2 separate regions of the Homo sapiens genome follow, and region 2 is linked to region 1. The links are contacts of gene promoters, found by promoter capture Hi-C in blood cells and fetal thymus (Javierre and others, 2016). All regions are on one chromosome and are shown on one strand. The core of a region is centred on a gene start or on the middle of the fragment in contact, and the rest is flanking DNA. Distances in the headings are between cores, read along the strand shown. Region 1 holds the start of ZMYND15 (zinc finger MYND-type containing 15). Region 2 overlaps MINK1 (misshapen like kinase 1).

The links. The method cuts DNA at HindIII sites, captures the fragments that hold promoters and counts their contacts. A CHiCAGO score of 5 or more calls a contact.
Region 2: a contact is called between a fragment that was not itself captured here and the fragment with the promoter of ZMYND15 in region 1, in 14 of 17 cell types (erythroblasts, naive B cells, megakaryocytes and 11 more). The highest score is 10.0, in erythroblasts.

What each region holds. Positions count from the first base shown.
Region 1 is chr17:4,735,828-4,742,111 of GRCh38, reverse strand. ZMYND15 (zinc finger MYND-type containing 15) reads right to left here and starts at 2,279. Exons shown (of 14, transcript NM_001136046.3): 1 at 2,062-2,279; 2 at 972-1,593; 3 at 296-530; 4 at 42-197. The coding sequence starts at 1,563. It overlaps CXCL16 (C-X-C motif chemokine ligand 16), which reads left to right and starts at 2,184. Exons shown (of 6, transcript NM_001386809.1): 1 at 2,184-2,851; 2 at 3,192-3,330; 3 at 3,622-3,704. The coding sequence starts at 2,773. RefSeq lists a silencer at 2,093-2,312 and enhancers at 1,861-2,765, 2,766-3,671. The HindIII fragment of the contact is 8,207 bases long and covers 1-6,284 here.
Region 2 is chr17:4,836,468-4,842,751 of GRCh38, reverse strand. The region is part of intron 1 of MINK1 (misshapen like kinase 1); the gene reads right to left. Among named protein-coding and RNA genes, the nearest start is that of MINK1, 6.3 kb to the right of the region's middle. The HindIII fragment of the contact is 1,041 bases long and covers 4,143-5,183 here.

The DNA of each region.
Region 1 (6,284 bases), core at 1,030-3,529:
CTATTGGGGTCTTCCTCTCCCCCAGCTTTGGGGCTGCTCACCAAGGTGTCAGCTTCGCTTCAAAGCTGTGCCTGTGACACACATGGCAGGTTCGAGCACGAAGGGAAGCAAAGGTGAAGCCTGGCCGGGGACCCCATGTCCGCATTGGGGTTTTGGCTAACTTCACACCTAGCCTTGGGACCAAGCTCTCCAGCTCTCTAAATGCAGTTGGGGGGGAGATGGCATCAGGCTGGAGGAGGTGCTTGGGAATCCAGGGCCCGAGTCCTCCCCAGCCTCAGATACCAGATTTCTATACCGATGCAGCCGGGCATCTCCCACAGTAAGCTGTCGGGGCTTTCGGGGATCCCCAGAGCCCATGGGACAGGCCATGCTGTGACAGAGGAGAGCATAGGCCCAAGGAGCCAGGTCCTTGGTCCCTGAGCCCCAGCTTGCGGTTCCCTGGGCTCCATCCACTAGCAGATCAATGCCCAAGATGGTGCCATGCTCATCCGTCACAAGTAAGAGACAGGAAACGTGCAGGGGGGCAGCCTCTGGGGAAAGAGGGAAAAGTTGAGGTGGTAGGGGGCAGCGAGAGACAAATGTGGTCAGGGTCAGGAGTACCAAACTCAAATACCTACGGGGCTAGGCAAGTAACCTCACTGAGTAAAGGGCTCTGGGTAGAGAGGGCACGCTCCTTCTAAAGGGGACAGCTGCTACAGAGGACCAGAATGCGCTGCCATGCAGAAATGTAGGCCCACTGTCAGAGCTTGAGATTTTTCTTGGGAATGTGTAAATCCAGACTTCTGGATACTTTTTTTCTTGCAATGTTTAAACATTAAATTAAAAAAAAAAACCCCACTGTGGGTCAATAAAAACACCTTTTCAGGCCAGATTGGCCTGAAGGCCAGCACTCAGAACTAGTGGCAGGGGAGGGCTTCCGAAGGGAGGATGGCTGGGCAAGGGGTAGGGCAGGGCCAGCCCTGGGTTCTTACCACTCCTCTGTCCCTTCCTCTTCTGGGGTCTTGTTTCGTTCTCCACCCTGTCCTCTCGGCAGCCATCCTTGCCACCTCCTGCCTCCCGGGCAGCCTCCTCTGACTCTCCTGGAGGGTTTGTTTCCTGGGGGGACTCCCTGCTGGTAGGGGCTAGCTCCCGGTCCTCCTCTGGTTCCACCTTCTCTGTGCTGCCTGCACCCCCGTCCTCTCTCTTCTCTTCTTCTTCATCTTCCTCCTCTTCCTCCTCCCCTTCCTCCCCATCCTCTAGGCTGACAAAGCTGATGTAGGGGCTCAGGTCTCGCAGGTGGAGTGGAGGGTTGTCTCCCAGGAGCCAGGCAGTCCCCAGGCCTGGTCCAGGACCTGGTTCTGCCCCTTGCCCCAGGCTGATGCCCACACTATGGTTGGGCAGGACATGGAGCACCCAAAGGGCAGGGTCCTGGGGTAGCCTTCTGATCTGGGCCTCCAGCTGCCGGCAGCGGCCCTCAAGGCTAGTCCCTACAGCTCCACGCTCTGCCACAAACTTTCGGAACCAGCCGAAGAGAAGGGCAGTGAAATCAAGGAACTCATCCCGGTATCCAGACACAAACTCCATGTCTTCAGCGGCACAGGGCCCCGGCCCAGACTGAGCAAAAGAAGGGATATATGGTGAGGGACAGGAGAGCAATGATGGAGTTTGGGGCTGGGTCACAAATTGAGGGAGAGGGTAGGTTTGAGAGTCACTTAGGGTTGGATCCGTGGATATGCTAGGAGCGGAGAAGAGGATTTTTCAGGGCTGAGGATGGGAGTTTAGGGAGGAAAATGGGGGCTGGACTTGAAAGTGGGTGACCAGGGTTGGAGAAGACTACTCAGGGATGAGATGGTATTTGGGGCTTAAAATTGGAGAGTTCACACCCTCAAAAGCAGAGTTTAAATTAAGGCTAGAGAGGAGAGAGGGCTAATCCTATCGGGAACGGTTTGGTGGGGAGGGAAGCATTTTGGATGCGTCTGTGGGGTATGGGAGTGGGAGCGAGGGGGTTCCCTGGGCTCGGATCTGCGTGGCGGGCAGCCCCGGTAGACCTAGCCCCTCCCGGCCGCCCCACTCCTCCGGTACCTGCAGCCGCCACCACTTTTCGAAGGTAAATACCTCGCGGTGGAGGGTGCGCGGGTGCGGTTGTGACGTCAGGGCTGCCCGAGCCCTCGCCGGCTCAGCGGGCGGCCACGCCCCCCGGGCTCGGTGCGTCCGCGGGTGGCTGCCCCGCAGGTGCGCGCGGCCGGGGCTGGCGGCGACTCTCTCCACCGGGCCGCCCGGGAGGCTCATGCAGCGCGGCTGGGTCCCGCGGCGCCCGGATCGGGGAAGTGAAAGTGCCTCGGAGGAGGAGGGCCGGTCCGGCAGTGCAGCCGCCTCACAGGTCGGCGGACGGGCCAGGCGGGCGGCCTCCTGAACCGAACCGAATCGGCTCCTCGGGCCGTCGTCCTCCCGCCCCTCCTCGCCCGCCGCCGGAGTTTTCTTTCGGTTTCTTCCAAGATTCCTGGCCTTCCCTCGACGGAGCCGGGCCCAGTGCGGGGGCGCAGGGCGCGGGAGCTCCACCTCCTCGGCTTTCCCTGCGTCCAGAGGCTGGCATGGCGCGGGCCGAGTACTGAGCGCACGGTCGGGGCACAGCAGGGCCGGGGGGTGCAGCTGGCTCGCGCCTCCTCTCCGGCCGCCGTCTCCTCCGGTCCCCGGCGAAAGCCATTGAGACACCAGCTGGACGTCACGCGCCGGAGCATGTCTGGGAGTCAGAGCGAGGTGGCTCCATCCCCGCAGAGTCCGCGGAGCCCCGAGATGGGACGGGACTTGCGGCCCGGGTCCCGCGTGCTCCTGCTCCTGCTTCTGCTCCTGCTGGTGTACCTGACTCAGCCAGGTTAGCCGGGGGCGGGGCAGGGGACCCAGATTCCCCTGTCACGGGAAGGGGGTGAGTTGGGGAGGGGACACGAGGCCCACGGAGTTGAGTGGATGAAGGCAGCGGGGACAAGAGGAAAGCCAGCCAGCCGCCTGGGGTTGGGGACAGAGGCCCGGGGACGCCTGGCTCCGGGCGGGATTATGGATGTTGTCGGGGGCGTGATGATGTGTGGGTTGAGCCTGGCGCTCTGACCCTGGGTCCACCGAGAGGCTGTCATGGGGCTGTGGATTGGATGCCAGGGAACAGCGGAGTGGGGACCCTGGGCCTGGGAATGGGTGCCGACCACCTCCGTCCCGCGCAGGCAATGGCAACGAGGGCAGCGTCACTGGAAGTTGTTATTGTGGTAAAAGAATTTCTTCCGACTCCCCGCCATCGGTTCAGTTCATGAATCGTCTCCGGAAACACCTGAGAGCTTACCATCGGTGTCTATACTACACGAGGTAATTTTACCTGCCTCTGCGAGGGCAGCGCCTGGGCGGCCCCTCCTTGCAGGTGCCTCCAGGACCCTCTCTGGTCCAGCCTGAACTCCTTCCCGGCTCACCGAGCCCCATCTCCGGGTTCCGTTTGCTCTCATTCCCCGAAACTTCATGACTCCGTCTCACCTACTGGGGAGTTTCCCAGTCCCAGGAGAAAGGGCTCTTTCTTGGTGGCAACTTCACGCCTCTGGAATGAGGAAGGAGCCGGGGAAGGAAAGAAGGCGCCGCAGCTAAGCCCAGGTCTCTCCTCCGCAGGTTCCAGCTCCTTTCCTGGAGCGTGTGTGGGGGCAACAAGGACCCATGGGTTCAGGAATTGATGAGCTGTCTTGATCTCAAAGGTGAGACTTTTCCACTGCTCTTCAGGCTCTGCCTCCAGGGCTTAGCAGCTTCCACCTGACAGTTTTCTTTACCTGAGCCTTTTCCCCTGGGGCCGCACATTCCTAGAACCTTCTTCTGATCCTGTCCAAAGTACTTAGACTCGAGTCCCTGTTTGCCAAACGGGGTGATCATTCACCATCACCTTCATGAGTTTTGCCAATTCATTCTACCACGTGTGCTATTGTCTACTTATTAATATTTTTCTTGAAATCAAAGTACTATTTTATTTTATTTTTTTGAGATGGAGTCTCACTCTGTCACCCAGGCTGGAGTGCAGTGGCACGATCTTGGCTCACTGCAACCTCTGCCTCCCAGGTTCAAGAGATTCTCCTGCCTCAGCCTCCTGAGTAGCTGGGATTACAGGCGCGCACCACCAAGCCTGGCTAATTTTTGTATTTTTAGTAGAGACAGGGTTTCACCATGTTGGCCAGGCTGGTCTCGAACTCCTGGCCTTGTGATCCACCCGCCTCGGCCTCCAAAAGTGCTAGGATTACAGGCGTGAGCCACCACACCTGGCCTATTTTTCTTTTCCAATATTTTATTATGAAAATTTACACATATACAAAAGTTGAAAGAATGGCACACTGAATATCCAGTGCCTCCACCTAGATTCTACAATTTTATTTATATATGTATATTTTACATATTTACATAAACATATATTTTACACTATCAATTTTACAGCAATTACACGATATTTGCTTTATTAAGTATCCATCTATTCATTCTTCTATCCATCATCCATCACCTTATTTCTTGATGCATTTCTTTTTTTTTTTTTTTTTTTTTTTTAATGGAGTCTTGCTCTGTCGCCCAGGCTGGAGTGCAATGGTGCCCTCAGCTCACTGCAGCCTCCGCCTCCCAGGTTCAAGCAATTCTCCTGCCACAGCCTTCCGAGTAGCTGGGATTGCAGGTGCCCGCCACCATGCCCAGCTAATTTTTGTATTTTTTTAGTAGAGATGGGGTTTCACCGTGTTGGTCAGGCTGGTCTCAAACTCCTGACCTCAGGTGATCCACCTGCCTCAGCCTCCCAAAGTGCTGGGATTACAGGTGTGAACCGCAGTGCCCGGCCTCTTGATGCATTTCAAGGCAGATTGTGGACATCATTGCACTTCATCCCAAGACATTTCAGCATGTATATTAAGTAGAGTTCAATATTTTAATGCTTTTTTTTCTTTTGAGTTCAAATTTACATACAATGAAATGAATTACTTTTAAGTGTGCACAAACTAGTTTTGAAAACTTAAGTAGAGGCCAGGACGGTGGCTCACTCCTGTAATCCTAGCTCTTTGGGAGGTTGAGGCCGGTGGATCACCTGAGGTCAGGAGTTTGAGACCAGCCTGACCAACATGGTAAAACCCCATCTCTACTAAAAATACAAAATTAGCCAGGCATGGTGGCATGTGCCTGTAATTCCAGCTACTCAGGAGGTTGAGGCAGGAGAATCACTTGAACCTGGAGGCGGAGGTTGCAGTGAGCCGAGATCAGGCCATTGCACTCCAGCCTGGGCAACAAAAAAAAAGAAAGAAAACTTAAATAGTAAATTATCCTAAGCAATAATATCTGTGAAGTCACAAGTTTGATGCATTGGTTATATTTTTCTCTTAAAATAAATATACAACCATTAAAATACAAAAGGTTCTTCCATGTCCTAGCTAAAGTTTTGTAGGATCTGTGTCATCCATACTGCCTTTAAGTCTGCCTAGACCTCTATGATTTCCTTTCATCCTCCCAGGAACCCTGGCCCTTGGTACTACAATTATCCTCATTTTACAGCTGGAAGATATCACTTCCGGAGAGGTTAGGGACAAGGGGTGAGGTTACACAGCTACTTGAGGTTACACAGCTACTTTACAGCAGAGCTTGGAATCCAACCCTGGTCTTCTGATTTCCCAGTTCATGACACCCACTTGTCTCGTGGTTCGCTCACTTCCTTGTCCCCTACCTTTTCCGTCTGTCATCTGCCTTCCTCTTCTGGCCTTCAGCGTGATAACCTCCCTGACTCACTCTTCCCTCTGTTGGAGCTCAGAACATGACACTCCAAAACATGGCACCTTGGTAATTACGAAAACAGCAGAAGTAAGTAGCTCACTCTGCTCTGTTTTTCTGTGAGAGCTGGCCATAAAGGAATTCTCTAACTTCACGTGGAAGTAGGTCATAGGCTCTCATTTCAGATGGGTCCTGCCCTATACTTGGAGGCCAAGAAGAATCTGGACAGGCCTTGCTGGTCCCCCACCCCCCATTTATTGCCATTAGATCATACCCTTTTTGTCCAATCATACTTCTTTTTTTTTTTTGAGATGGAGTTTCGCTCTTGTTGCCCAGGCTGGAATGCAGTTGTGCAATCTTGGCTCACTGCAACCTCCACCTCCTGGGTTCAGGCGATTCTGCCTCAGCCTCCCATGTAGCTGGGATTACAGGCACATGACACCATGCCTGGCTAATTTTGTATTTTTAGTAGAGACTGGGTTTCTCCATGTTGGTCAGACTGGTCTCGAACTCCCGACCTCAGGTGATCCACCCACCTCAGCCTCCCAAAG
Region 2 (6,284 bases), core at 3,414-5,913, 98 kb before region 1:
TCTTTGCCTCACGCTGCTTAGGCTTTGGGGCACTCTGTCCAACTGTTTTCTTGAAGACTCTTTCCTGAGTCACTTAGAACTAAAGACTAAGTATTGCAAGCTTCAGCCACTTTCTTAAAAATGTGCCTTGAAAGAAAGAGTGGGTGGGTGGTGAAAAGAGAACATGAAAATCTTCCTTACAGTCTGGCTGGGAGCCTACCTATTTTACCTCCAGAGGTATGCTAGCAGACAAAAGCTGCTAGATATGTGCCATGCACAAGGGTAATTTAGAGCCCACATTCCTCTCTCTACCTGGAAAGAAGTACACAGGGGACTTAGGAACTACTTCCTACTTCATGGAAGAAACCTGTCCAGTCCCTCCCCGGGTCTCTCCCATGTCCATAACAAGTTCATGAGAGGTACCAGTGGCAATACGGGTGGAAAAACAGTTCTTCGATGCACTGTCCCAGACTCTGCCAGATGGTTAACATCCCCAATCCCCATGTGCTAAATGCCGTTAGTGCTCCCAAGGCAGTTTTTTTTTTTTTTTGGACAGAGTCTCGCTCTGTCGCCCAGGCTGGAGTGCAGTGGCGTGGTCTAGGCTCACTACAAGCTCCGCCTCCCGGGTTCATGCCATTCTCCTGCCTCAGCCTCCCAAGTAGCTGGGACTACAGGCGCCCACCACCGCGCCCGGCTAATTTTTTTTTGTATTTTTAGTAGAGACGGGGTTTCACCGTGTTAGCCAGGATGGTCTCGATCTCCTGACCTCGTGATCCGCCCGCCTCGGCCTCCCAAAGTGCTGGGATTACAGGCGTGAGCCACCGTGCCCGGTGCTCCCAAGACAGTTAATCCTCCCTCCTCAGCATTTCCGAACACCCCCTGGAGGCCAGCGGTGCCCTGGCTGAGAACCAGAGTCAGCACCTGTACTGCTTTGTATCCCACCGTGCCCAGCATATACTGGGCACCCTGTACTAATTGTGGATTGAATCTAGTAGGAAAGGTCCAGTCACAGACATACTTAGATCCATGTCTCTTACCAAGTAATTTCTGAACCCCTACTGTGTGCTCAGCATCTTTACAGGGATCAAGAGGAAATATGGATCACAGTCTCTACACATAAGGAAGTGGTAGGAAAAACAAGACCATAAAACATTATTCAATATAAGGCAATATATAAGCCAATGCTAAATTGTAAGGTCTGTGAGAAAGTGGATGATGTGATCAGTAAAGGCTGGCAAAATCGGAGGGGGGGCTTTGTGGGAAAAAAACATAAGTTGAGGTGGCTCTTGAAGGAGGTGGGATTGTCTTCATTCAGCCCTACCGATCCTCAGTCTGTCCCTGCCAGGACCGCTGTTCATAGAAAACTCCTCTAAGCCTGTGGTTCTAGGAGCAATTCGGCAACCCAAGCCCTTCAAATCCCATCCCCAGGTGGTTCCTGGAACAAGACGGTGTGAGAAATTTCCCATTCTTTGTCAGAAGACCAGAGAATATCAGGCCTGCTTTCAGGAGGCCTGCTCATCCCAAAGGCAATGGAAGAAACCACTGGCGGAAGTGCCCGTGCGGAGATGCCCAAGACAGAACCAAAAAGCATTTGGTGCTACGTGTACATACTGAGTCACAGGCTCTAAGTGCTGGGGCCCCCAGTTGTGACCACAGACACTCCCCACGTCGCCTGTCCCGTGTGGCCCTGGAATTTACCTGCTGTGGATGAACCTGAGGTCTCAGCTATCTCCTCTGTCAAAGGTCTTCCTGTCTCCTCCCTCGCCAACTATCACCACGTTTCTTAGGCAGCTCGTCCCCATTTCCTCCATTCATCTCTCTCCAGCCACCCAGGCTCCTCCCACAGGCTGTGCCACCAAACTCTCCTCACAGCCCACCTCACCGTCTTCTACGCTGCCATCCTCCCGACATTCAAGCTGGTCCCAGAGCCTGGCTCCTTCAGGAAGCCCAAGACTTGTGGCTTCCCCAACCCTGTTTCCTTTCAAACACGCAAAATCAGTAACACTCCCCCTCCACACCCCACTCATCCTTTACTTGTATACAATGTAAATGGAGAGTCTTGTCTATTTATATACACTATCTATCCAATGTTAGAAAGAATCCCACTTCCCACAGACCATGCAGCTAAGCTGAGGGCTGGGCCTACTTGTTCTTATTTCCGTGAGACTCACCTACCTTCCAAACTCCAGGCACCCCTTAGGCTAATAACATCTAGGGATACACCCTCCTCTCTCATATACCCCATTCTGAGGAGCCACATCTAAACTACAGACCCAGGACCCAGAGTCCCTCCCCCAGTAAGTAAAAATGAGGATTATATGAGTCATAAGCTCTTTCCATATACATGCTCTTAACTTTTGAGACAAACAAATAAACCATTTTTTTTCCCCTCCCACAGGAAGATTCAGAAGAAATCCTTTTGGAATTAAGCCTGGAGTTTCCACCCCATCCTCAGGCTTCTTGCCCTCAATTGTTGACCAAATGCTTCACCATAAGAATGGCCCCATTCCAGAGTCTCCCAATTCTCACCATCACCAAACTCTACCTGCTGGTTCAACTCTATCTCATCTTTCTGCAGCAATGCCAGTTTAGCTTTCTGACATGATTTACGTCTCTCTCAATCAACTAGATATTTTTGTCTTATAAAAGTTTTGTCTCGTAAAAGCAATTTTTTTTCCATGACACAGCCCTCAGGAGATCCTGAGAACATATGCTCAAAACAACTCTTGTTATATGTGCCCACGGCATGTTAAAGTTTTCACTACAGTCCTTATCATGGCTTGCAATCACACACACACACACACACACACACACACACACACACACACACACATTAATAAATAATTACTTGATTAATGTCTCTCCCTACTACTAGACTGTATCACCACTGTGTCCTCTGTGCCTAGTTCTAGATCTTTCCTCAAACAGAACACAAAATCCTACCCACACGTAGCACGTACAACCTCAGGCTGTCTAGCCACTGGACAAAATCTCCAGGGGCTCTCTTGGGTCACTACAATTCCATCCCTCTTTTCTCTCCTCCCTTTACTATTCCCGCCCTTAGTAAGAACAAAGAGCCTCAAAACCCTTTTTCCATTACCCCCTAGAAGAGCTTCCTATAGATAAGAGAAGCCCAGTCTCAAGTCAAGGACTGGTTGGTTCGGAGGAGAATGGCAAAAGAACTGGAGAGAGCAAATGGCCGTGAGCTGTGGACAGGATCCAAGTCTTCTACCAAGTCACGTTTTTGTATCTTACTATACTCTGTGTGAATTCAAGAAATGCTTTGAGAGTTGACTTATTAACCTGATCACTTTTGTTCTGTCTTCAATCCAGGAAAGAGAAGACTGAGACAGATAGTAGTAAAAAGTAGGTGTCGAAGGGAGTGGGGCTGAAGACCAGGTTTCAAGATGACTGCCCACTGACCACAGAAAATGAGTGTAATTCATGGAAATCAGGTTTAACAAAAATGTCCCAACCTTGAAGGTTGCAGGATATTGAGGAAAACAGTAACAGTTAAGAAAAAGAGTCTAGGCCGGGCACGGTGGCTCGCGCCTGTAATCCCAGCACTTTGGGAGGCTGAGGCGGGCAGATTACAAGGTCAGGAGATCAAGACCATCCTGGCTAACACGGTGAAACCCCGTCTCTACTAAAAATACAAAAAATTAGCCAGGCATTGTGGCGGGCGCCTATAGTCCCAGCTACTCGGGAGGCTGAAGCAGGAGAATGGCGTGAACCTGGGAGGTGGAGCTTGCAGTGAGCCAAGATCGCGCCACTGCACTCCAGCCTGGGCGACAGTGCGAGACTGCGTCTCAAAAAAAAAAAAAAGAGTCTAGGCTTGGAAAGGCATTGCTTTGCTTGGGTGGATGTCCCCAGAGATCTGGTTAAATAGCTTAGTAGAGGACTGAGTACTATATTACATCCTTTCCATAGAATCTGGAACCTGATTCTCAATACATAGACTGCCAATGCTTGGCGACTGACTGGTGGAGGACAGGGGATTATTGATAACTTTCTCTGATTCAACTTTGTCTGGAGACAGAAATATTAGACAGGCAGACTCTCACCGGCTTCTGGAGATGTTCTCCAGTCCAGAATTGCTTTATGTTTCTGGGTTGAGAGGTTACTGCATGCCTTATCTACAGACCTACACCAGAATACAAGCTTATCAAGAGCGGCTGCACACTTCCTGCCATCATGTCCCCTAAATGACAAACAAAGATGGTTTACATGTGCAAGTTGTGTGTGCTACCCTGTCTTAGGCACACAGTTCAATGCGGAAAGGAATGGAGGCCAGATGTGAAGTCAGGATTCTACCCAGCAGAGTTTTAATTGAGCTCCTGGGGCAAGAGTGAGGGGGTGGGCCAGCTGGCTCTCTTGCTGACCTTACTGTTATCTTAACTGTCAAAACCTCCCTGCTGTGTATATCCCTAAGGACTATGGCAAACTGTCCTATCCCATAGCATAAAGGGTGGGGATGTCTCTCCCTCTGTTTGGGGAATGACTGATCACCTAGTTTCAGCCAAGTTCTCAGTAATCTTCCTTCCGTCATTTTGCCAAGGCAGCATTTCACTTCATCTAAATGCCTCGAGCTCTCCAAACAGCCCCATTCCCCTTTTGCAATTTTCCAGGGGAAAAAAGTCACTATTGAATGTCCTTACTTCTGCAGCAGGAGGTCACTCTTCCCATTCTCCTGCCTAAGGCATCTGTCATCAACATTTGGACAGCTAGCACATCAGAACACAGAGGCAGTCCCACGTTGCTCAGCAGCCTAGAAATACATGCCCAGAACTGCCAGCTTTCCGAGTGGTGCTGGCTCCACAGCCGCATGAAGAGAGGAGGAAGGCGAAGACACTTATCCAAAGAACAGACACAACAACACAAAATCATTTGAAAAAGAACATCTCTGTCAGCAGCTACCACCGAGCAACAAGTCCTCCTTGAATGTGCTCCATGCTATGATTTCAATCCAGCGACGCTAAGCATAGCTCCACAGTTTCAAGGACACTGCAGTCAAACTTCGAGCTGGATGGTAAAAAGAAGCTGTTTGATTTACGAAGTGGGTCAACCAAAAGGAGCAATGCAAAAGGAAAGAGGTCAGGCCGGGGCCTGCCCCCTCCTTGTCCCATCCACTTCCACTGATATTTATCCTTTGTGAGAAGCCAAGAGTTCCAAGTCAGAAGGTTCTCCTGGAATATAACCAAGCTTAGACACAGAGGCCCACATTTTCTCTTGGATGATCCTAACTTTACTTCAAGGGCATCGCTCAGCTGGAGGCTTCCAGAACTGTTTACCCCAGACAAGGTCTGATTCTAAAAACATCCCAGAAAAAATATATTCTTAATTGTGCATAAATAAAAGAGGGGCAAAATGAAGCCTAAGAAGCCTGGGGTTTATTGAATACTTTCTCTAAGCAAGCACTGCACTGTGTTGTAAGTGGCACGTGTTGTAAGAGGCACTTCTGCAACAAACGTTTGAGCCCCCATTATGTGCAAAACATGCTTACAGGCACTGGGGATACAAAAATGAACAAAACAGCCAAAATCTTAGCTTTCACCGAACTGTTTGTTGTAGTTGTTGTTGTTGTTTGAAACAGAGTCTGGCTTTGTCGCCCAAGCTGGAGTGCAGTGGTGCAATCTTGGCTCACTGCAGCCTCCACCTCCAAGGTTCAAGTGATTCTCCTGCCTCAGCCTCCCGAGTAACTGGGATTACAGGTGTGCGCCACCATGCCTGGCTAATTTTTTTGTATTTTTTTTTTAGTAGAGATGGGGTTTTACCATGTTGGCCAGGCTGGTCTCGAACTTCTGACCTCTCAGGTGATCCATCTGCCTCGGCCTCCCAAAGTGCTGGGATTACGGTCGTGAGCTACCACACCCGGCCACTGAACTGACATTTTAGTGGGGCTGACAGGAATATATATGTCAGCTGGTGATAAATACTATGAGGAAGGATAAAGCAGACTAAGGGAATGCTATATAAAATTTTGTATAAAAATAAAGCAGAGGAGGGAGTGCTATTTTAGATAAAGTTGTCCTGGAAGGCTTCTCTGATTGCCATTTGATAAAAATAACTGCAAAAAGGGCTATCACATATATGATCACTGTGTGCTGGGAACTGTACTATGTACTTAACGTGCATTTAATCCTCAGCAACTCTGCATTCAGTACTATTACCATGCCCACGATACAGGACTGAATGAAGCTTAGAGAGGGTAAGGCTCTTGGCAGAATCTGCAGTAAGGGGAGCAGGGCCAGGGTTACATTGTAAGGGAAGAAACTAGGACTTGAACTCAGGGCTGCAACTTCAAA